4 separate regions of the Homo sapiens genome follow, and regions 1, 2 and 4 are each linked to region 3. The links are contacts of gene promoters, found by promoter capture Hi-C in human tissues and cell types (Jung and others, 2019). All regions are on one chromosome and are shown on one strand. The core of a region is centred on a gene start or on the middle of the fragment in contact, and the rest is flanking DNA. Distances in the headings are between cores, read along the strand shown. Region 1 has its middle 32 kb from the start of LINC03083. Region 2 has its middle 52 kb from the start of LINC03083. Region 3 holds the start of NKX2-2 (NK2 homeobox 2). Region 4 overlaps KIZ (kizuna centrosomal protein).

Region 1 (2,700 bases), core at 144-2,643, 510 kb before region 3:
CACTCTCACAGATACACCCAGGTTCAATACTTTGCACCCTTCAATCCAATCAAGTTGACACTCAGTATTAACCATCACAACCCTCCTGTCCTGGGATTCACACCCTTGTGTAGGCTCTTCCCACAGTGAATCACGGTTGGTTTGTGTAGCCAATAGAATATGGCAGAGGTGATGGTGTGTCACTTCTGCTGACTAGGTTCCAAAAGATAAATTGGCTTCTGACTGTTCTTTTCTGGATTGCTTGATTGGGGGGAAGCCTGCTGCCATGTTAAAGAACTCAGGCAGCCCTATGGAAGGTGAGGAACTGAGGCCACCAGGCAACAGCTGTGTGAGTGAGCTGTTGGAAACAGATTGTCCAGCCCCCACCAAGCCTTCAGGAGACCTCAGCCTCTGCCAACATCTTGACTGCAGTCTCTAGAGAGACCGTAAGCCAGAGCCACCCAGCTCAGCCACTCTCAAATGTTTGGCCCCCAGAAAAGATGTGAGATAATAAATAGTAGGTGTTTTAAGTCAGTAAGTTTGGGAGTAATCTGTTATGCAGCAATAGACAACTAGTGCAGAAAGCATGTTTTCAAAGCATGAGTCTGTATACCTGTGGGTGGTACCAAATGCTGGGGTCCAGGCAGATCCAGACATTAAACCAAGAAGGAAGTCCAGAACTAGGCCAGGGTGAAAATACAGGGCTCAGCACAGATGGCAAAGTCAACAACCAAGCAGCCCATGAGGGGCTGGAAAAATTCCCCATGCTGTTGAGTAGATTCCATGCCCCAAATGGGGACAGAACTGGCTCCAGGTGGTTAAAGGAACCAGAAGTAAATAAAAAACAAAAAAAAAACACTTAGATTTTCATTATAAATCATTAAAATAAAACTTCGCCTAAGGTAACTTCAATTATCTAGAAATTCATTTTTAGAGAACACTATTGGTTGTCCATTCAACAGCTATCCAGCCCTCTTTTCCATGATGGCAGAGCCCACCTGCTACTTAAGAGACTATAATGATGAGCTATTCTCTTTCCCTGCCTCCTTGTAGCTAAGTCATGGCCAGTGGAACCCAAGGGGCAGTCTGCAAACGGGGTTTTTGGAAAGACTTTTCATAAAAAGAGCACCACGTAGGACAAAATGCTCTGTTGTGCCCACCTCTGGATCTTTTATTTGATTTTTAAATTTTTTTGTGGGTAGATAGTAGGTGTATATATTTATGGGTTATGTGGATATATATTTATGGGTTATGTAGATATTTTTATACTTGCAGGTAATGTGTTATAATCACATCAGGGTAAATAGGCTATCCATCGCCTTAAGCATTTATCATTTGTGTTTCAAACAATCCAATTATACTCTTAGTTATTTTTAAATGTACAATTAAATTTGTTTTTACTATAGTCGCCCTGTTGTGCTAGCAAATACCAGGTCTCATATATGCTTTCTAACTATTTTTGGTACCCATTAACCATCCCCACTTCCCCACCTCCCACTCCCCGCCACCCCGCCTTTGGATCTCGAATGAGAATATGCTGTTTGGGTTTGCAGCAGCTGTCTTGCTATCTGAGGAGAAAGTAAAAATGTCCACAGAGGAGCTGACTCAGGGCCCTGACATCTGCGAGCAGCTGAATGAATGGACCCCAGAACAAGCTGCCTCCAGACTTGCTGTCGGAAAGAAAACTCAACATCATTTTAGTGGGATATTCCGTCACTTGCCACCAGATAGATCTGTTGCTGTATAGCAAACAATCCTAAAATTGTCACTTAAAAGAAAAATAAGCGTTTATTTTACTCATGAATCTGGTGGTTGAATGGCTTAGCTGGGTGATACTTGCATGGGTTTCTCATGTGGTTGCAATTAGATGCTGGCTGCGCATAGAGTCATTTTGAAGGTGTTTTTACTCATATGCCTGGCACCTGGGCTGAGAAGGCTCAGCAGCTCAGGGTAGGAAGACCTGGGGGCAGGAAGACCTGGGGTTCCCCAGTCACCTCTCTCTGTCTCTATCCTACCCGTCATCTATCTATCTATCATATATGTCTATCCTATCTGCCATATGTCTATCGTATCTATCCTATCACATATATCTATTCTATCTATCTACCTATCAATCACCTATCAGCTATCTGTCATCCATGTATCCTATCTATCTATTATCCATCTATGTCTATCTATCTAGTGGCCTCAGGGAAATCAGGTGGGACCTCTTACATGGCAGCCAAAGGCCTCCAGAGAGAATGTTTCCAAAGAAAAGACAAGGCGTTTTCTAACCCAGCCTTGGAAGTCACACAGTCTCACTTTCCCCAAATTCTATTCATCATGTAGTTACAAAGGTGGGCCCTTCCTTCAAAGGGAGGGGATATAGACTTCACCTCTTGATAGGAGGAGTTTCAAATAATTTTCGGATGAGTTTTTAAGCCACCACAAGCAACCTAACTGGTACTTTTGGGTCCTACTGTTTATTCCTCCACGTGATGACTTCCCACATTATCCTTACCGGGAGAGCTAGTCTCCTCTTCAGAACCCTTATAAACTTTCCATCCCAGAGAAACTTTTCTAGGGCCCAAGATGGTACCCAACTCTGGGGTGACTCCTTCCCGTTAACAGGATAAGGCTTCTGAGACAGTGACCTGAAGGAATAAGCTGTCCCTTATAAGGCCAAGATGATTCATTGAAAAGGGAGAGTATTTTAATAACTAATGGTTTATACTTGGTGCC
Region 2 (2,700 bases), core at 15-2,514, 490 kb before region 3:
GCAGGCAACAGCAAGCCACAATCACATCACTCAGAAGGAAGGAATAGAATACAAATTAAAGGAAGAATGTAAATTTTTTGCCATTAAGCTTCAATGACCATTTGAAATGGTGGAAGGCACAAAGGTTCTTGATGAGCGTCATCTAGTTTGATTATTCATACTTGTGTTTCTGCTTGAATTAAAGCAGGAGTGCTAGAGCCCGTTAAGGGAAAATATTTGAATTGATAGTGAACTCTCACCTTGCCGTGCATCCATTTACTTTTCAAATGAATACCAGATAAGTTAGTGCATTTTCTAATCGGCCTGTTTTCCAGTGAGTGCTGTCATTACATACCAATTTCTTTTAGAAGTGCTTGCTAAGAAACATTAACTACTCACAAATAAGGAGCTGTCTGTCACAGACTGAGGTCTTAAGCTCACTGGCTCATTTCTGCCAGGATAGTTGAGGGCTGTAGAGTCCACAGTTGCCTGGCCTGTCTAAGCTTCAGTCTTTTCCCTACTTCCCAAGCCAGTCCTTAAACATAGGCAAGGATTTTGCCACCTGCCATGTTTCCAGAACCAGGTGGCATTTGCTCTAGTAATAGCCCAAACCAGCTTACCATTGAGTAAATATGTTATTGTGTGCAGGTGACCTGGGTCCACCCCCTGCTCTGATCCTAACTGCTGACCCAGACTTCAGATTCAAAGCTGACTGAGGACAGTGTATCATTTATTCCTGAACACCAGCTCCACAACTAGTAGGTACATTGACTCAACATAGAGAAAACGGGAAATGTAAAGTCTGAGGGTTGTGTGTTTGGGAGAGGTGGGGTGGGGGTGTCTCATTTTTAAAATACACGTTCAAGTTTTGGACAAGGGCACATAAGCAGAAACTGCTCCTCCTGATGGGGAAAGCACCAGAACATTGCTACTCCTCAAGAAGAGACTATATATATATATATATATATATATATATATATATATATATATATATATATATATATATATATATTTGCGCTTAATCAGGGAGAAAGAAAAAGAAGGCACTTACTACCTGGGTCTACATTTGGCATCATAAAGAGTTTCTTTGGGTTACCCCTCCTGTTGAATGTTACTGGTTACACATTTGTTAAAATGTGTCCATTTTTTTAATCCAAAAATTTACTTTCAGGAGTAATCATGGGTAAAATATAGGGCATACCTAAGGGAGTGAAGTATCGCTCACCAACCTTGAGTGACCTTGCTTCCACATGATTTTGTTTTGCAAATTCTGGTCTGTTCATTGACAGAACAACAACCACATTGATGTGAGCTCCTCATACATCTTCAGCCAAGGCACACAGAAAAAGGAAATGCCTGACAAACAACCCTTCTGAGTGAAGAATGATGGGATCTAATGCCAGGTGAGAAGAGTCCTTATCTGGTTGGGATCCAAAGGCTACTCTTATTTTTTATTTTTTTAATTAAAAAAATACATTTTGGTAGGCCAAGGCAGGAGGATCACTTGAGCCCGGGAGTTTAAGACCAGCCTGGGCAATATAGTGAGACCCTCTCTCTACAAAAAATTTAAAAAATTAGTCGGGCATTGGTGGTGCACACCTGTAGTCCCAGCTACTTGTGGGGCTTGACGGGGAAGATCACTTGAGTCCAGGAGGTTGAAGCTACAGTGAGCTGTGATTGCACCACTACACTCCAGCCTGGGTACCAGAACGAGATTTTTATCTCAAAAAAATTAATGAAATAAAATATTATAATCTCAAAATTGGTTAATCTCATAACTGAATTAAAAGTCAAATGAAAATATAGGGAAAGCTGACCATTAAAGGAGCTGTTGAATATGTGCCGTGGCCACCTATGATAAGGAAGTAACCCAAGCCCGCCCCCGGTAGTGCCCTCCAGACCTGACTCTGAGATTGTCCATAGGACTCTGTTGATTGGCCAGTGGATATCAACACATATGATGTAAGCAGAGACTTGAAAAGCATTTAGCATTGCCCTCTTGCTGCACTTGGAGATAACCATGTGAACAAGCCCGAGCTATCCTGCTGGAAGATGAGAGACACATGGATAAGAACTAACAACCTGCCCAACCATCAGACTTGCGAATGAGGCCATCTTTGGTCATCCAGTCACAAGACACCCCACAGATGTACATTGGCAAGAGTACAACAGGAGTCAGCCGGGACAACCCAGCCCAGAAGAGCTGCCCAGACAACCTACAGAATCATGAGCTAAATATGACACTCAAGGTGTAGGCAAATATGCACAGAGTCTAAGACTTAGGCCCATTTTCCTAAAAATTCCCTTTTATTATTGAACCACCGAAATAATTTTTTAATATTCTTAAACAACCAAAATTGTGGTAAGCATGTTCAGGTGCAGTGGAGACTGGATAGTGTATTTAGGACTCTCCTGGTGTGCCTCATTACCTACCAATTACACCAGACCATCTGACAAAGCCTGCTCTTAACCATACAGGTAACTGTATTCGAAATGACACTTTTGAATATTTTGAGGACTAAATGAGTGTGTGTCTGTGTGTGTGTGTGTATGTTTGTGTATAGTAAATGCTGTCTGTGCTCTGTCCCCATTCCCTACACGTCCTTCTCATGTTTATGTGTGTGCATTCACTCCAGCAGCCAGGACCTCCTTTCTTTGGGAGAAACTATTCCTCACCCAACCAAACCACAGGGCTCTCTCATGGACTGACAGTCTTAGTCC
Region 3 (2,700 bases), core at 73-2,572:
AATTTGGGGGGGGAAGTGGCACTGAAGATCATCGCGGGTTAAGGGCTCCGGCGCCCTTAAGCGGTTTCCTCTCCGGCGAGACGTGGGCAGATTTTTAAAAGAAATACCCCACAATCCCAGCATTGATCGGCTCGGCCATTTAAGGCAGGTTTTTGGGGGCTTTCGTTTCTGCTTTCGGGCCTTCTAGACACCCCCTGCACTGCACAAAGCGTCCTCTATGATCGCGCAGGGGGCAGGGTGAGCTATTTATACCCGGGCCACCCGAAGCCTCCCCACCCTCCACCCGTACCCGGACGAGGCTCGCTGGCTACCTCCAGGGCGCCAGGCCAGTCCCTCCCAGCGGCCGGAGTCCGGGGGCTGCGGCTGGAGCCATCGGTCCGGGTTGACATCATATACCAGCCCCTGGGAGGTATAGCCCTTCTCCCTCTTTCTCCTTAACTTCTCGCATTGAAAAAAATTTTGGAGACCAAGTTCTTTCCCGGAACTAAGGAGGCTTGAAGAGGAGGGCAGAGGACATCCTATACAGGTGTTAAAAATCTTTCTACGGATCCGAGTGAGGGGGTCCGGGCTTACATGGCCCCTTCCCCTTTCACTCCCAGCGTCCAACCCGGGCTGCGGCTGCAGGAATGGAGGGGACCACGGCCTCGGCAGCCAAGTTTTGCTACTTACGGGAGTACTGAAGGCCCTCGGTGCTGGCCAGCCAGCGCGTGTACGGGTTGTCGCTGCTGTCGTAGAAGGGGTTCTTCAGGGGCAGGCTCTGCACCGCGTCCAGGGCGCCCTGCCCCAGCGGCCCGGCCCTCTTGGCTGGCTCGGGCCCCTCGTTCTCTTCCTCCGGACCTTCGGCCACAGAGCCCTCCTCATCGTTGGTGTCCGGCAGGTCTAAGATGTCCTTGACCGAAAACCCCGTCTTTGTGTTGGTCAGCGACATGGTTCGAGACCCCAAAATTTATGTCGCAAAGTTGTAGCTTCACTTGGTCAATTCGTGGCGCTCCCCTGCCCCGGCGGGCGGGGGAGGGGGGAGTTGGGGGGAGGGACTGGGGGAGGGGAGGGGGGAATTGGCTTTAATTATTGGGATAATTATTATTTTTAAAAAGAGAAAGAAACTGGGGATGGGGAGGAAAAAAATGAAGCCCAACCCAGTGCCTCTCTCTGTCTTCTTTGAAAGCACGCGGAAATGGACGCAGGAAGCCGGGCGGCCTGCGCGCCGAGCGCCGCGGGCCCCGGCCTTAGTTTCTAACTCCAGGAGGGGTGCCAAGGCGGCGTCAGCTCGGGCTCCGGCGGCCGCTCGGCGCGCGGTGGCGGCTGGTGGCGAGGAAAAAATGGGCCATTGCCCGAGCGATCAGTCCATATAAGGCTGGGCTCCACTCACGAACCTGGGGAGGCGGGGAGAGGGGGAGAAAGAGAGGGAGGGAGGGAAAGAAAGAGGGAGGGAGGGGGAGCGAGAGAGGGAGCGGGAGAAGGGTGGAAAAAAGGGGGAAGAGACATTAAAAACGCAAAGGTTGGCCACGTGTGGGCGGGTCTTGGGAGTCAAGTGGATGAAGACAGTATTTGCAGATGTGAAATTGTGGGTTTTGGGGAGCTCCGCGCTCCCAGCCAACGGCCCTCTAGAGCAAGATGAGAGGTGTAACGTGTCAATTAATTGCAAAGACGGGGCGAGCCTTTTTTTTTTTAAACCCAGTATTTACATACAAAGGGCCACCGCGTCGCTCGCGAGTCCACACACTTGAAAGGGCCGTTTTAACAAATTGCATCTTAAAAAAGGTGGGGGTGGGGAGGAGGAGGGGAGAAAACAAAACAGAAACCAGGAGGAGGGAAAAAATCCTCTTTAACATTCACCGGTTCCTACCTCCCCGCCCCCGCGCGCCCACCCCCGGCAAGCCGGAAAATTGGCGATTTGTGGCGCCTTTGGAAAAGGGGGAGGGGGCGAAGGCCGAGCTGCGGAAATCTCTCCTTTCCATCGTTGGTGGTTGCCTAAACAAGATCCGGTTCAAATGGCAAGAGCCCAACTTCTGTAAGCCTCCTAGGTCAATATTTTGGTTGAGGCTTAAGGATGAGTGCTAGAAATGACAAGGCAAGTAATTGATTCCAGTTAACCGCGAGAGAGCCCAAAACCCAGGAGAGAGCTCCGCTCCGGGCCGGCCAGAGCCACCACCAAGCGACCCGCCCCCTTCCAGCCGCCCTTTATTTGCTAAAGACTCATTTATTTCCTTCACTCCGCCTCCCCCCACCTCCCACCCCCAACCCCCCGCCTCCACCTCTCTGCGGCCAAGGAGGACGCGCAGTTCACTTTCTGCTTTGCGGGCGGTCCCGGGGAGGGCGGGGTAAGAGTGAGGAGCTCCAACTTCGTCTGGGGTCGGACCCTGGCCCTGCTGCCTCTGGGCTCTGCGGGCCTCTTTCCCCGGGTGGAGGAAAGGGCAGACGGCCCTGCTCTTTCCTGCCCTCTATTATCCCTCCCTCTCCGGCCCCCTCCCTCTCCAGCCTCTGGCTAGAGGTGGAGCAGCGGGAAGGCGGCGGGGCGGGATTGCGGGGGTGGGGGTGGGGGTTGTGTCTCCAGCCTGGGTGAAGACCCAGAAAGCTGCGGGGGAGGGGGGTCGCTGGGTGGCCCGACGATGCCTCGTTTTCTCCCCAGTTTTCTTCTCCCACGCGAGTTCTTTAGTGTGGTCTCTTTTTGGACGCCTTGGGTGCGTTCGGAGTACGCGC
Region 4 (2,700 bases), core at 34-2,533, 370 kb before region 3:
CCTTTCTGTTAACAGAGGAATTCTGGAGTGTTTATATCTTGAGATATTGTTTTAAATAAAATCATCTTATTAGGAAGATCCCTTTGATTAAACCTTACGTGATTATTTAAAGATTTTTGCTTACAGAATATTGCTTTAATGTCTAATTTAATTAAGTTTGCTGAAAGGGTGTTACTTTGTGAAGAAAGGATAGACTCTAAAGAAAACCTCAGTGTTGTCAGTAGGTAAAATTGTTTTTCTAAATCATGCCTTGTAGCTGCTCTTTTCTTAGTTTGAGAAGTGTTTTAAATGAAAAGTAAACAAAATATGGCATTTTGATTCTTTTATTTGTGCGAATATACATAATTTTGTACATTTTAACCTTTGCACAGAAAACGTGGAAAGAAAAGATTGCATATCTAAGCAATAGACAAAAAGATCGACAAGGAATACTTAAATAAATTCTGCTATGTATCTGCTATAATGCAGGCTTCTAATCCTCCTGCCTATCTCCATATAAATGATTCTGTTCAAGACCGTAGATGTTTTCTTCACTAAAAGCAGTAAAGCTCTTTTAGATGAAATGTCTAAAAACATCTTGTAATAACTTGGAGCATGCTGGCAAGAGTAGTCACTTGTGACTATGTGTGAAACCCCCTCAGCCAGTCGATATTGTAATAAGCAAAAATGGTAGCATCACTCCATTATTCAGAAAAGCCAACAGCGTGCTTGTTCCTTAGGCTGCAGCATTCATTAAGAAAAGCTTACTGGGCTGAAAGCTGGAAACAGATGATAACGGGATATGATTTTCATATTTAATGCTTTCCTTGGAAGAGTGTGTGTGCTACAGATTGATAGAAGAATCAACTGCTACTTTACTAAAAGACTTTCAGGTTTGCCCTATAGCTACCGATGGAATCATTCAGCCAAGAAATTAACTTTTTCTCCTTTTACCTGCTTTATATATCTGCTAAGCAGGCTGCCTGGCTGCCAGTAAATGTTATTATGCAGTTAACTGTTGGGTATTTAAGACTCTTATCAGAAAAGAAACAGAGGCCACACTATTTTGTTTTTATAGTAGGAGGAAGGTTTTAGTTTTTCTTTCTTCCGTGCATTAGCAGGCATTAATCTGAGTTTATAGGAAGTTTTCGTTTTCCTTCCTCATAGATTAAAAAATTAAAAAAAAAACCCTAGAACTTAGAGCATTCTTTAAACTGTAAGATACAAAACACCAAGCCCCAGCAACCTTGACCTATATAAAAAGGCTTTAATGATAAATGACGTATATGCCATTCGATGTAGGCCAAATGTGGTATGATGTGATAGAATTTTAGAGCATTCAGGCAGTTTTTCTATTTGATATTCGGTCATGAAATAATTGATGTGTTTTAATCTAGAAGCCAGTTAGTTCTTTCTATGCCATTCTTGATAGACATATTCTTAGCACGGCAGTGTCAATGGTACTTCAGGAAAACGGAAGCTTTTTTTTTCTTTATTTACCCACTGATTCTTTACCTTGCATGTAGTTGTGGAGTCTCCTTTTAGGACATATTTAAAATTAGGGCAAGAGACATACAGTTGACAACCCCTTAAAATGTTACATATAATAATTAGAAGTCTTTTCATTTATATGGAAAGGTGTCATTTCCTTAAAAGCTTTGACTATTGGCTGTATAAGAATCGATTAGGTAACACTTTGAGAAATTTATATTTTGCATTTTCTAATTTTCCATTGATGTTCAACCAATTAAAAGGTAAATACATTTCAGCAAAATCATGTTTTAGTTAATCCTTATACTAATTCCTGAACCATTCCTTATCATATGAGTTATAGCTTATTGTTTAGTGGAAATCCAAGCTTCTCTTCTTTGGGCAGTCATATGAATTGGTCTTGGTCATTGACCTCCAGGGCCTTTCCTGAAGCATAGTACAGTCACTGGTTGAATCAATAAATAGTTGTTAAGCATCAGTTCTCTTTGAGAAGCAACAGTAGGCCCCTCTATGAAGGCCACAATTTTCTTACCTTCAGAGTGCTTCTCAGAAAGCAATGTTCTTTCTAAGGCACAGAATAGTGTGTGATAAAGTGCCAGTCACGTGGGACAAACATGAGCAATGAGAAGAAAGAAGATTCTGCTTCCTGTGAATTGAGTAATCCCAGCCCTGGTGGAGGAGGTGGTGTGTGAGCTGGCATAGAAGGATGTGCAGGATGCCAGTCAGTGGTAGAAAATGAGCTTGGAAAGCTACCTTGTGGGATTTGGTACCTGGAACTATGGTCCCAGGCTAAGAACTGAGATTTCCTCCTGGAATTTGTGTGTGTGTGTGTGTGTGTGTGTGTGTGTGTGGCAGCAGATGAAGGAAGGACTTGTGAGCAGAGCAGTCACATCCCATGTGTGCAGCTGCGGGAAGATGAGGCTGGCAGTGCTGTGCAGGATGAGCCTGGGGAGGAGTACGTGGAACTGAGGAAATCAGGCTCCATTCAGACAGGAGGAATTAACAGAATGGAGGACCTGTATTGGGGATGGCCATTGAGGTGGAAAACACTAACAAAGGGGAGAGGATCTATCAAATTGGTGATCATTCTGAATTATAAAAAGGTATTTTTTAAGTGGCTATACAGCTTTCAACCATAGGCAGTAACTTGGATGCCAAGAAAAGTCATCAAGTGGTGTGTGTCCATTTTTTAAATATAAAAACTCTGGCTCAGTTTTGGTGTAGGACATC

Evidence for each region. Contacts are between HindIII fragments. The study calls those that stand out against the background at their distance.
Region 1: a contact is called between a fragment that was not itself captured here and the fragment with the promoter of NKX2-2 in region 3, in 2 of the 25 tissues and cell types used here (dorsolateral prefrontal cortex and lymphoblastoid cells).
Region 2: a fragment that was not itself captured here is called in contact with the fragment with the promoter of NKX2-2 in region 3 in 1 of the 25 tissues and cell types used here (lymphoblastoid cells).
Region 4: a fragment that was not itself captured here is called in contact with the fragment with the promoter of NKX2-2 in region 3 in 5 of the 25 tissues and cell types used here (H1 embryonic stem cells, aorta, heart right ventricle and 2 more).

The regions. Positions count from the first base shown.
Region 1 is chr20:21,001,103-21,003,802 of GRCh38, forward strand. No RefSeq gene overlaps it. Among named protein-coding and RNA genes, the nearest start is that of LINC03083, 32 kb to the left of the region's middle. The HindIII fragment of the contact is 5,523 bases long and covers 1-2,700 here.
Region 2 is chr20:21,021,186-21,023,885 of GRCh38, forward strand. No RefSeq gene overlaps it. Among named protein-coding and RNA genes, the nearest start is that of LINC03083, 52 kb to the left of the region's middle. The HindIII fragment of the contact is 5,260 bases long and covers 1-2,700 here.
Region 3 is chr20:21,512,742-21,515,441 of GRCh38, forward strand. It overlaps NKX2-2 (NK2 homeobox 2), which reads right to left and starts at 1,323. Exons shown (of 2, transcript NM_002509.4): 1 at 670-1,323. The coding sequence starts at 928. The HindIII fragment of the contact is 15,862 bases long and covers 1-2,700 here.
Region 4 is chr20:21,145,675-21,148,374 of GRCh38, forward strand. All of the region lies in intron 4 of KIZ (kizuna centrosomal protein), which reads left to right. Among named protein-coding and RNA genes, the nearest start is that of KIZ, 21 kb to the left of the region's middle. The HindIII fragment of the contact is 4,353 bases long and covers 1-2,700 here.